2 separate regions of the Homo sapiens genome follow, and region 1 is linked to region 2. Evidence: promoter capture Hi-C in 16 types of primary human blood cells and fetal thymus (Javierre and others, 2016). All regions are on one chromosome and are shown on one strand. The core of a region is centred on a gene start or on the middle of the fragment in contact, and the rest is flanking DNA. Distances in the headings are between cores, read along the strand shown.

What was found. Contacts are between HindIII fragments. The CHiCAGO score rates a contact against its expected background, and 5 or more counts as called.
Region 1: a contact is called between a fragment that was not itself captured here and the fragment with the promoter of ANKRD44 in region 2, in 2 of 17 cell types (activated CD4 T cells and naive CD8 T cells). The highest score is 6.6, in activated CD4 T cells.

The regions. Positions count from the first base shown.
Region 1 is chr2:197,356,974-197,362,995 of GRCh38, reverse strand. No RefSeq gene overlaps it. Among named protein-coding and RNA genes, the nearest start is that of ANKRD44-DT, 49 kb to the right of the region's middle. The HindIII fragment of the contact is 1,022 bases long and covers 3,266-4,287 here.
Region 2 is chr2:197,308,640-197,314,599 of GRCh38, reverse strand. ANKRD44 (ankyrin repeat domain 44) reads left to right here and starts at 3,820. Exons shown (of 28, transcript NM_001195144.2): 1 at 3,820-4,022. The coding sequence starts at 3,996. It overlaps ANKRD44-DT (ANKRD44 divergent transcript), which reads right to left and starts at 3,534. Exons shown (of 4, transcript XR_923750.3): 1 at 1,902-3,534; 2 at 283-411; 3 at 116-131. RefSeq lists silencers at 3,505-3,584, 3,595-3,914, 3,965-4,344 and enhancers at 4,468-4,969, 5,421-5,480. The HindIII fragment of the contact is 14,364 bases long and covers 1-5,960 here.

The sequences.
Region 1 (6,022 bases), core at 2,527-5,026, 48 kb before region 2:
GCTCATGTTTTATAAATGAAACATAAACATGCTAAAAAACAATATTCATGGTCTTATTTTTTAAAAAAGAAAGAAAACAGATTAATCACTCCTTTCTGAGTCTCATTTTCTTCTGTAAAATAAAGGTATTAGATTAATAATGTTTAAGACTTCTTTTAATTGAAAAATTCTATGACCTAAAAAGAATACCTTACTTTTCCATTTGCCTTCCTATCTTTCCTCCTTTCTACCTTCCCATTTTACAAATCTAGAAACTAAATAACAGTTCATTAATAATATACTTAATATTAAGTTTTAAATATTGTTTAATATTATTAAGTAATTAAAATATTAAATATCAAGTATATTAAATACATAAATATTAAATATATTAAATAATACTTAATATTATATTAAATATTAAGTAATATTAAGTAATATTAATAAGTAGTAAGTACTAAGTACTTAATATTAAGTAATATTAATATTACTTAATATACTTAATATTACTTAATCTTAAAAATTCTGTTACATTATTAGCAGGTTGTATGATACATAGATATGATAGGTTTTTGAGTATTTATTATGTAGTTAAAACTTTGCTAAATATTAAGAATCCTAAAGGCTGTGTGCAGTGGCTTATGCCTGTAATCCCAGCCCTTTGGGAGGCTGAGTCTGGCAGATATCTTGAACCCAGGAGTTCGAGACCAACCTGGGCAACATGGTCAAACCCCATCTTTACAAAAAATACAAAAAATTGGCTGGGAATGGTGGTGCAAGCCTGTAGTCTCAGCTACTTGGGAGGCTGAGGTGGGAGAATCACTTGAGCCTGGGAGGTTGAGGCTGCAGTGAGCCATGAAGGCACCACTGCACTCCAGCCTGGGTGACAGAGCAAGATCTGCACCTCTTTGATAAGGTCATTATTCTCACTTATGAGGCCTCTACCTTCATGATGTAATCACCTCCACCTCTTAACACTATCACATTGCAATTAAATTTCAACATTTGAATTTTGGCGGGACACAATCAGACCATAGCAGGGCCTTTGGGAAGTAATTAGATTTTGACAAAGTCATGATTCTATGAGTTCTTCATTTGTGTTTATATTTATATTATTTTATTTTATTTTTAGAGACAGTTCTGTTGCCCAGGATGGAGTGCAGTGGCAGGAGCATAGCTCATTGCAGCCTTGAACTCCTGGGCTCAAGTGATCCTCCTGAGTTGGCCTCCCAAGGCACTGGGATTATAGGTATGAGCCACTATGCCTGGCCTGTATTTAAATTTATTATGTACATTTTAAAGAATGCTTATAACTGAGTAAAAATATCAGCAGTCTGGAAAAATCAGCAAAAGTTTCAAAGAGAAATTTCAGAGTAAGAAATCCATTTTATAAGCAAACATGAAGATGCTTAATAAGTAACTGAAGAAATGCAAATTGAAGCAATAAGCAGTAAGTTCACATTTTTGCCTACCAGATTAGTAAAGATTTAAATGTTGAGGGTATGGGGAAATATACCTTCATACACTATTGCTAAAATTATAAATTGGTAAAAACTTTCTGGAGGGCAATATATGTTCATTAAAAATATCTGTATGCCACTTTTTCTAGGCACTCTGTTTCTAAGAATTTCTAAGAAAATAATTAGACAAAGGCACAAAGATGTAACTACAAGCGTATTAACTGTAATAGTATGTATAATGTGAAAAAAGTACAAAATAAGCATTAATTAGGATGAGAAAGCATATTTTAAAGGCACAGACAGTGCTAAATTCACCCATTAACTGCAAATTTTGATGATATTATCCATACAGGATTTGCTAAGCATTAAATAATTGGGGCTAGAAAGGTCAGTGAGAAATGTCTCAACTGCTTTACCATGGTGAGTTGACTGTGTAATAGGTACTTAATGGAGAGACAACTTGCCAAAATAGATAGCTGTCTCTCATACTGCCCTGGGGCCTGTTTTTTAATAAAGAACAATTTCAACCCACTTAGCAATGGTAAATGTAGTACAAAGCTTTCAGTTGTTTTGGAGGTAGGGGGAAGAAATCCTAAGCTGACTCAAATAACACAGAGACAGACTAGAATTTCAATGGAAACCAGATGTTCTCATTGTGGTTGTCTTTTAATGGCTATCAACAGTCAAACCCTAACCCCACATCTTCAACATAGACAGTCCAAAGTGAGTCATCCACTAATGACTGGACAAATTACCTGGCTCCTTGTGCATGAGAAGTGCTAGCAGCTTTGGTTTGTGGAGTACTTTCTATGTGCTGGGCCCCATGCTGAAGTATTATACCTATCTTACCTCATTTAATTCTAAGAAACCTGTAGAATCAAATATTTTCCCCATTACAAAAATGAAAAAAACAAATGAGACTATAAGAAGTTAAATGACTGAGTTAAGGTCATCCGGTAGGGATTCAGGCCTGTGTCTGACTCCACAGCCTGGCTTTTTTTTTTTGGAGGCAGGGTCTCACTCTGTCACCCAGGCTGGGGTGCAGTGATGCAATCTCAGCTCACTGCAACCTCTGCCTCCTGGGCTCAAGGGATTTTCTTGCTTTATCCTCCCGAGTAGCTGGGATAGCTGGTGCCTGCCACCACACCTGGCCAATTTTTGTATTTTTTTTGTAGAGACAGGGTTTCACTATGTTGTCCAGGCTGGTCTCGAACTCCTGACCTGAAGTGATCCACCTGCCTCCGCCTCCCAAAGTGCCGGGATTACAGATGTGAGCCACTGTGCCCAGACTTCCACAATTTGGCTTTTCACTTTCACAGTATACAGGACAGCAGGGCTGATATTTGACCAGTAAACACCAATGTGACCACAGTGATTTTCTAAATATTAGAATATTTCCACACTAACTGGTGCCTGGCTGCTGCCCTTAGCCTCTCTTCTGCTGCCCTCCTCTGGGATCCCTGGACAGCCTCTCACAGCCACTAGAGGGCCACACCTGGCCCAGCAGGGGCCCCTAGGGGCCCTTCTGGGGCCTGCTGTTTCCCTAATGTGAGGGTCATTAAGTTTCTGCATATCCCCCATGGTATGGTTTAGATGTTCCTCCCCTCCAATTATGTTGAAACGTGATCCCCAATATTGGAAGTGGGGCCTGCTGGGAGGTGTTTGGGTCATGGGTACTGATCTCTCATGAATGGCTTAGTGCCCTGTAATGAGTTCATGCAGGATCTGATTATTAAAAAGAGTCTGGGACCTCCCTCCTCCCTCTCTTGTTCCCTCTCTTGACATGGGACTCACTCTCCCTTTGCCTTCCACCATGAGTAGAAGCTTCCTGAGGCCTCACAAGAAGCTGAGCAGATGTTGGTGCCATGCTTGTACAGCCTGCAGAAACATGAGCCAAATAAACATCTTTTCTTTATGAATTACTCTGCCTCAGGTATTTCTTCATAGCAATGCAAAATGGACTAGCACACCCCCCGAGTAGAGAAGGTCTCTAGTGAGCCTAGGGCAGAGGAGAGATCACTTCTCCAAGTGACAGCTTTGTTATTTTTCATCTCTAGCTACTGTATTTCATATGTTAAAGGTTTCCTGCCATACCAGTTATAAGTTGATCCCATGTTCACTTTTTGGTGCCACCCAGAATCCCACAAGAGAAGCCTGGCCTTTCTATGTTGCCTCATCATTCCTGGGGGGCCTCACTTTCTCACATCCAGCTCAGTACTGTCAGCTCCAGGGTATAGCTAAATCTTGGGGCATTTGCAATTTGGGGGAATTTCATTTGATCTAAGACATAATTGACTGCCAGATGCACCATTATTTTATGGACCAGGAATGAAAATACTACTACTGAAACCACGACACAATGATAGTGATGTGTCTTATATGAATCACTCACACCAGCATCTTGTTGCTTTGAAATTCCTTTCATCTATTCTGAAGGGCTCAGCAATTTCCTCTGCCTTCAGTTGCCAGGATGGGCAATCCTTGTGCACACTTCTCAGTAGCAAAATGCAACACAGATTCATCTTCTTGTGGGTATCTTCCTTTCTTAGGTTCTAGAAAGGCTGTGTTTGATTTTATTGCTTTGCTAAACGTAGGTAAATGTGGTCATTCCTTCTAAGAATTTTTATGTCTCTCACACCAAATCCACATTCGACTGTTGTTTTCATTCTCTGCTGTGCTATCTCTATGGAAACTTTTCCTATTGACATTGAATGCTAGTGTAATCATTTTGAAGACATTTAAAACAGGGATTGAAACACCTATATTATCAACAGTGCATATAACTCAATTGTGACAATATTGTCAGCAGCTGCAACCAAGTTCTTTTGAGCACAGGCAGAGACAAGCTTGTGATTACTGCCTGGCCAACAATGATTACGAGATGTATCCTGATTTGGAAGATTTTTAAATTTGAAAAGAGTGTGTTTTAGAATGGAGTTAAATGCACTTTGTTTATTTGAGGTGAATCAACTGAATTTTGCAGATGCAAAAACTGAGACTCAGTGTAGTTAATCATTTTGTTTAAAGTCGCAGGCCTTGTAATCGGTGGAGCTGGAACCCAATTCCAGGTCTGTCTGAATCTGAAACCCATGCTTCGTCCCATAACAAGTTGATAATTCATGTAGGGAGAAAAGTCAAATATTTATGGACACTGTTGGTATTGGTGTCTCACCTTGTCCCTGTGGAAATACTGAGCAGTTCTGTGTTCTCATCTGCAGCTTCCATGGGCTTACCTCCTATCCTAATAGCTGAAACCTATAACCTTCTTCAGAGAACTGCCCTTGGGCTACAGAAGCAGCTTACCCTGGATGTTCTCAAGAGTGAAAACTACTCAGGAGTTTTCATGCCTTCAGGGCAGCCCAAGGTGATAGCTGAGGAGTGAAGGAGCAGGAAAGCCGAGCTCTTCTGCCTTGAGGCAGGACAAATTGTGTGGTGTAACTGACCCTCCTGGATCAGGCTGAGGCTAGGACTTCAGCCTGCCTTCTGGCTTCCTCCCTTTCCCTATTCTGCTTCCCCAACTCTCTTACTGCTTTCTCCTGGGAGCCCTTTCTTAACAAATCACTTGCACACATGTTCTCATCTATCAGCTTCTGAGAAACCTGACCCAAGACAATGAAGAAACTGGTGAATAAGGCAGCGTTATGAATAGCACAGTAATGCCCATTGATGATGTTTGTTTGTTTGTTTTTGAGACAGAGTCTTGCTCTGTTTCCCAGGTTGGAGGGCGGTAGCTTGATCACAGCTCACGGCAGCCTCGACATCCTAGGCGAAAGCGATCCTCCCACCTCAGCCTTTCAAGTAGCTGGGACTACAGGCATGTGCCACCATGGCTGGCTAATTAAAAAATATATATTTTGTAGAGATGGAGTCTCACTATATTACCCAGGCTGGTCTTGAACTCCTGAGCTCAAGTGATCCTCCTGTCTCGGCCTCCCAAAGTGTTGGGATTACAGGCGTGAGCCACCATGCTCAGTCCCACTAACTATGTTGATTGAAGCACTTACCTTCATCACTTCCAGTCCTTGGGGAAGTCTTCTAATTCTGAGTCTCTGTTACAGTTTGACTGAGTAATTCGACTTTCACCTTCAAGTTCTAGGACCGGCTGGGTGCAGGGGCTCACTCCTGTAATCCCAGCATTTTGGGAGGCTGAGGCAGGTAGATCGCCTGAGGTCAGGGGTTCGAGACCAGCCTGGCCAACATGGTGAAACCCTGTCTCTACTAAAAATACAAAATTAGCTGGGTGTGGTGGCGTGCACCTGTAATCCCAGCTACTTGGGATGCTGAGGCAGGAGAATCGCTTGAACCCAGGAGGCAGAGATTGCAGTGAGCCGAGATCACTCCATTGCACTCCAGCCTGGGCAACAGAGTGAGACTCTGTGTCAAAAAAAAAAAAAAAAAAAAAAAAAAAAAAAAAAAAAGTAAAAAAGTTCTAGGACCTTTAGCTCTTATTAAATCCTATCCCCTCTGGACCCCAAGTGAGACCCCTGTGGACTCCTGGTCCTAGTGATAATCTCTGCCATATTCAACATCAGTTGCTGGGCTGGAGGCTCTCTGAAACTGCCACTAGGAATCCTGTTTTCATT
Region 2 (5,960 bases), core at 2,571-5,070:
ACGTCTTTTCTGGTGGTACCAATTTCTACATATTTCCAGGGATTGAGCATTGTTGTTGGTTTTCTATTCTGGTATCAAGAGGAAATTCCAGAGGCTTCCATTTGGCCTGTCTTACCATAATAAACTTCACTCTGTGGGTCAGAGAAATGATGTTAGGATTCTGTTAGTTACTGAGTATGTCTATTCTAACTAACAGTTGAGGAGATAACTATAGTTTGGGTCTGCAGAGCTACTGGATCCACACTGATTTATACTTAGTTAAAAATTTCATTTATCACCTACCATAGATCCCCATTTTGATTGGTGGATCCAGTGGTGTTTGCAATCCTCAGGAATTAGCATTAATTCAGAAGCAGTGTCAGTGATCCCTCAAATGTCTGGGTATTTCCTTTTTCCCAGTACTCGCTCAGCCTAGAAAAATACATCAGGTTCCTTTGGATAAGGCTTGGATGAGGATTTGTAGTATATATTTATGACAATGCTGCAAGACCCTCCTGAAGGGGACCAGCTTCCCTTTTAATCAAGGAGCTCTGTGTCTGTGAACTCATTTAGGTACGGAAACTGAATGAAAGATAATTTCATTTTGATGGCTCAAGGGAGCTTTCAGGTGGCAGATGTAGAGTTTTGTCTGTTATAAAGATCAATGGCTATTTCCAAAGTCTGCCCGTCTATTTCATTCCTAGGACAACCTAGGGCACTGCCAGATATACCTGTAGGTTAAGACCTTTAAGTACTACTTTGTCTCTGCTGTCCATTACAGTAAATGTGTCCACCTTGTCTCTGCCAGCTAAGTGCTGCCACTTGGCCATTGCTGTCGCAGGATCCCACTAATATAAAAATCAAGGAGCCATCTCAACGAAAGCATCTCCCACCATCATATCCAGCTACTAGAGAGTTTTTCTGACGTTCTCTCTCGAATGTATTTTTCTTTCCTTTTCTTTTTTTTTCTTTTTGACAGAGTCTTGCTTTGTTGCCCAGGCTGGAGTGCAATGGCGCGTCATTGGCTCAGTGCAACCTCTGCCTCCTGGGTTCAAGCGACTCTCGTGACTCAGCCTCCCAAGTAGCTGGAACTACAGGTGCATGCCACCACGCCTGGCTAATTTTTTGTATTTTTAGTAGAGACGGGGTTTCACCATGTTAGCCAGGCTGGTCTGGAACTCCTGACCTCAGGTGATCCACCTGCTTCAGCCTCCCAAAGTGCTGGGATTATAGGCATAAGCCATGGTGCCTGGCCTGTATTTTTCAATGCTTCAGTATAAAGATCATCATCTGGCTCTCCAGGAATATGTAGGGGTTGGCTGTACAGATTATACATGATAAAATTATTCCAACATTCCCATCTCCACAAATCTTTGGATTTCTTTCTCTACATTATACCAGGGGCATTCTGGCTTCTCAAGCTCACCGAATATAGTCAACTGCTGAGTCTGAGTCTCATTTAATGAAGTAAACAAAGTGTTTGAATCACTGTCAAAGTACTGGCTAACACATTAAAAGCAGACCTTCTGATAAGTGTAGTCTTATCAATAAATTTTGCCAAATCTTCTGCTCCCTATTTTATTTGGAACTTGGCCACGAGTTGTTCAACCTTTCACAAAGTCAGGTCACCTATGACAACACCAATCTTGATATTTGAATTCCTAACACTATATGTTCACATCTGTCTGCATTTGTAATTCTCTCATTCACAAAGCCTCTCCATATAGGTGGAAGCATCTTACTGCTTTGTTTTGTCAGAAGACAAAGAGAGTTGTGTTTTACCACTTACCTACTGAAATACATATTCATTATAAATTACTCTCCTTTAATTTTTCCTTTATTGTACAATTAGGACAATATATTGTTGCTGGTTTTTTTTTTTTTGAAATTTGTATTGGTAGGTAATATTATCCACAAATTACCTTTCAGGATAGTAAGGGGAGTGTTAAAGATACTAGTTACAAAAAGAGGATGATGGTCTGATTGGGTGGAGAACTGCTGCCTCCTCACTTTGGCCCCAGGAACTTAGGTGCAGGCATGTCCGCGATGAATCAAATTGGATCTTGAGTGAATCTTCCAAATTAAGTCATTTGTTATCACTCTTCTGAAAGATGGCTCTATTTAAGTAGAGAATGCAGGGTCCTATTCAGTTTACTTACAAAGCCATGCAGGGTGTTCAGTAAATAGACATACCAATAACAGCAGTGAAGAACTGACTCATAGATGCAACATAAACAATCTGTTGTATGTCTGAGAAAGGCCTTAGAATTTTTTGTTTGTTTGTTTCCATGCAACATTGATAACAGAGGAGTGGAAGCCAGGAACAAAGTTCCTTGGTTCTTCTTGTCTGCATGATCTGAATTATAATCTATAAGACTAATAAAGGTAAATTTGAGATTTAGCTGCTTCGACAACCAGAGTGGCTGGATGGTAAATGTGAGGATATTAATGCTCCTTTCTCTCCTGTCTCATGTGGAATCTTTGGGGGAGGTTCTAAGAGTAGGGAGGAAGAATGGACATTTGGTTTGTGAATATACAGTAGAGGCAGATGTTTGGTCTTGACCAAAGAATTCTGTAGCTCTAGTTTGCTCTTCAAAGCTGTTCAATGCTGCCCTACAGGTTTGCTCTATGGCCTGCCAGGGGCACATGGGGCTGCCTGGGAGCACTTCCTCTCCACTTGCTTACTTAATTCTCCCTTCTCCAGATCTCAACTCCTGTCACTTTCTCAGGGAAGCCTGCCCTCACCCACCAGTCTGGTCTGATTCCTTTGTTGTGGGTTCACTTCAGAAGCATGTTTTCCCTTGAGATCCCTTATCTCAGTTTGTAATTACATTCATTAGCAGAGACTATGCGGTTTATGTTGGCATCTTCTGAGAGCAGGTTATCTTATTTATGCTCTCCGTTTATTCCCGTGCCTAGCCAGTGCCTGACAAGGTAGGGACTCAGTACATAGCTGTTCAATGAATAAGTGTTTGCTCCAAATTCCAGAACTATCAACAGCTACTATGCTTACGAATATGCCCGTTGTATCTGTAGCCCATGGTGTTTGACAGCTGTCTTCTATTTGTTGAAGAGCTTGGTAACTTGGGATTTTGTAGAGATCAGTAAGGACTGGTGGGAACACCCAAAAGACCCATCAACTCGGTGATTTAGGACTGCTTTGCTTCTCCAGGAACTCCACTCCACCCCCACCAGCAAAAACCAAACCCAGGGTGTTTGAATTTAACAATAGTATGTGTGTGTGCATATGTGTGTGTGTGTTTAGCTGGAAAGTGGCTGGAGAACAAGGTGGAAGGGCCAGAGCTTCTGTTCCCTCCACCCATAAATGTTTGGCAAACACCCTGTAAAGAATCACAATGTGTCCGCTGCCTCCTGGCATTAAACAAAGGGAGCATCATAATTGCGGTCCCTGGGATCTTCGGGGCGCTGCCACCACCTGATTCTGGGTTAGGGGAAGGGGGCGTAACCCCATCTCCCCGGTTAAAGTGGACGGCATGTGAGTGAGAGCCTTTCCTGCCCCCTCGGGGTGTGTCCCCGCGGGCTTCCCCACCCATATGTGTGAGACCCGTCAGGGAGGCCCGCGATCCGCCCAGGGCCCGGGGCCGGCCCGGCCGGGCGCCGCGTGCAGGTGCGGAAGGCAGGCGGCGGCCCGGTGCGGGCGCGGGGGCAGCGCCGGGGGCCGGGCTGCGCGGCTCGGCTGCGGGCGGCAGGAGGCAGCGTCGGCCCAGGCGGCGGGCGGCGAGCGAGCCAGCGCGCGGTGATGTCAGTGGCGGCCCGGCTGGCAGCAGCCGGTACTTCCTGTGGAAAGGCGGGCGGGCTCGGCTGCAAACCCCACTAGCCAGTGTCAGCCTCTCGGCGGGAGGAGGCGGCGGCGGAGGAGGAGCAGGGGGAGGGCTGTCAAATTCGGGAGCCAGATTTTTTCCCTTCTCCTGGCAATCCCTTCCGCTTCCCCGGCTCCCGGCGTGACATCTGCGGGCCGGGGACCTGCATGTGTGTGCGCGCGAAGGAGCGGAAGAATGGCAGTGCTCAAACTCACCGACCAGGTAGCGGGCGGCGGCGCCGGCGGGCGGGACGCGCGGGCGCGGGGCGGCGCGGAGCCCGGCGGGGGGATGGGGGCGCGGCTGGAGCGCGCCCGCGAGCTGTTTACTCGCGGCGAAGGGGAGGACTGTGTGCGGCCGCCGGTGCCTCCGAGAGCCCGCGGCGGCAGCTCCCCTCCGCCGCGCCGTCCCCGCCCTGGGCCGTCGGAACTGCGCGCCCGAGTCTGGGGCAGGGCCCGTGGGCGCTGGGCAGCCGGCGTGCGGGAGTGCGGCGGCCGCGGGCCCGGCGGGGCTGGGGAGGGGGCCGGGGGCTCGAGGTGCTCTCGGGACTCGCACCGCGCCGCGTTGCGTGGGCGCCGCCGGCCCGGGCCCCGGGGAGGAGGACGCTGCACGAAGAGGGAGAAAGGATCGCAGACTGGGACCCCTCCCCAAACCTAGCAGGAGTCCTGCCCAGAATGCGGCTCTTGTGTGGCCGGGCTGTCTTTATTTATCCGTTGGATGTGACATCCGACTTCCTCTTTAGTTGCGCCAGGCTGTGTGCGTGGTGCGGGATGGGGACCCCTGGAGACCGCCCTTTCGGATCGGGCCGGTCCCTCTGAGGAGGAGGTGAAGTCGGCTCGGAGCCTCCACTCACAGGCGGTGGGCTACGGTCTGCCTGTGTCTACCAGCTTTGTTGGCTTTCCTTGCTGAGACACCACACAGGGCAGCTCTGGAGTCCTGGCTTGGAGAGGTGGGGTTATTTGCTGAATCGGATTGACAGTCCTCGCCGCAGGTCTGTGGAATGGTAACAGCCACCTTCGCGGACTCTGCTGCTCTTACATTGACACTAACAGGCACCAAACCAAGTTGCATGACAAAACTCTTTGCAGCTCTTTCCACGAAAAAAGGAAACGGCTTGCTACCCCCACCCCCGTTTATTCGTGGGTAGTGAAAGGAACTTTGTTTTGGGGTCCTGGTAGGCAGAGAGGCAATCTTGACTTTGACTACAGGGTCAGACTTGCCAGCCCTTGGTATTAAATACCTCAAACTTGTCCATGGGTTGCATCTGCTGCCTTGCGTTCTCCAGTTAGTATCCAGCCAGAACATCTTGCAACTGAAGTGCAGTCCGTCACCACAATGATTTGCAATGATTTGTTCTCCTGCCTTTTAGATTCAATTTTTTTAGCTTGTTTTTCCTAAATATTTACAGGTGTTTGGCGGGGTTGGTGATGGGGAAATCACTGAGTTAAAATTCATGTTATTGTTAAATTTAGTAAGAAGAGCAGCTGGTACTTGTGATGAATGTATTTGTTCTCATTGGTTCCAGAGCATTTAAAAGTGTAAGTTGATATCAGGATTTCCTTCACCTTTTGGTCACATACTTTGCCAACTGTTAGACATTTGCGTATTTTAAATCCTACAGTTTTAGCGTGTCTTGGGCCTGTCATCTTTGCTAGTACACGTTGCTGTACTTGTCTGTTAATCCCTAGATCTTCAAAGTACAAAGAATGGTTCTAATAGGTATTGTTATCACATATAAGAAAGAACATCACATAGAAGTTTAGAGTTGTAAGGACTCTAAGGATGATCTAGCCCAAACCCTTCATTTTCTAAATGACAAAACAGATCTGGAGAAGTGAAGCAAGTCTTCCTCAAAGAATGCCAGCTATAGGCCTGCAGGACTGGGACTAGCTCTTGTCTTCTGCCTTCCAGGTGCTTGTACTTTCTGCTACAGTTGGTATAGGATAGCTCCATCATCTCATTGGATGTGTTGTAAGGGTTACAAGAAAACATCTCTTCCTAGATCAAGATCAACCCTAGTGAGAAGTGTATTACTTGGTCTTACAAAGAGAGGAAGTTATTCTTCAGGGCTTATCAGAGCAGGAATTTCAAAGATGTTGCCTTTTAAGATGTTTCCAAGTATATTTCCTTCCTTCCCCCAATAAACTAGTATGAGTATGGAGA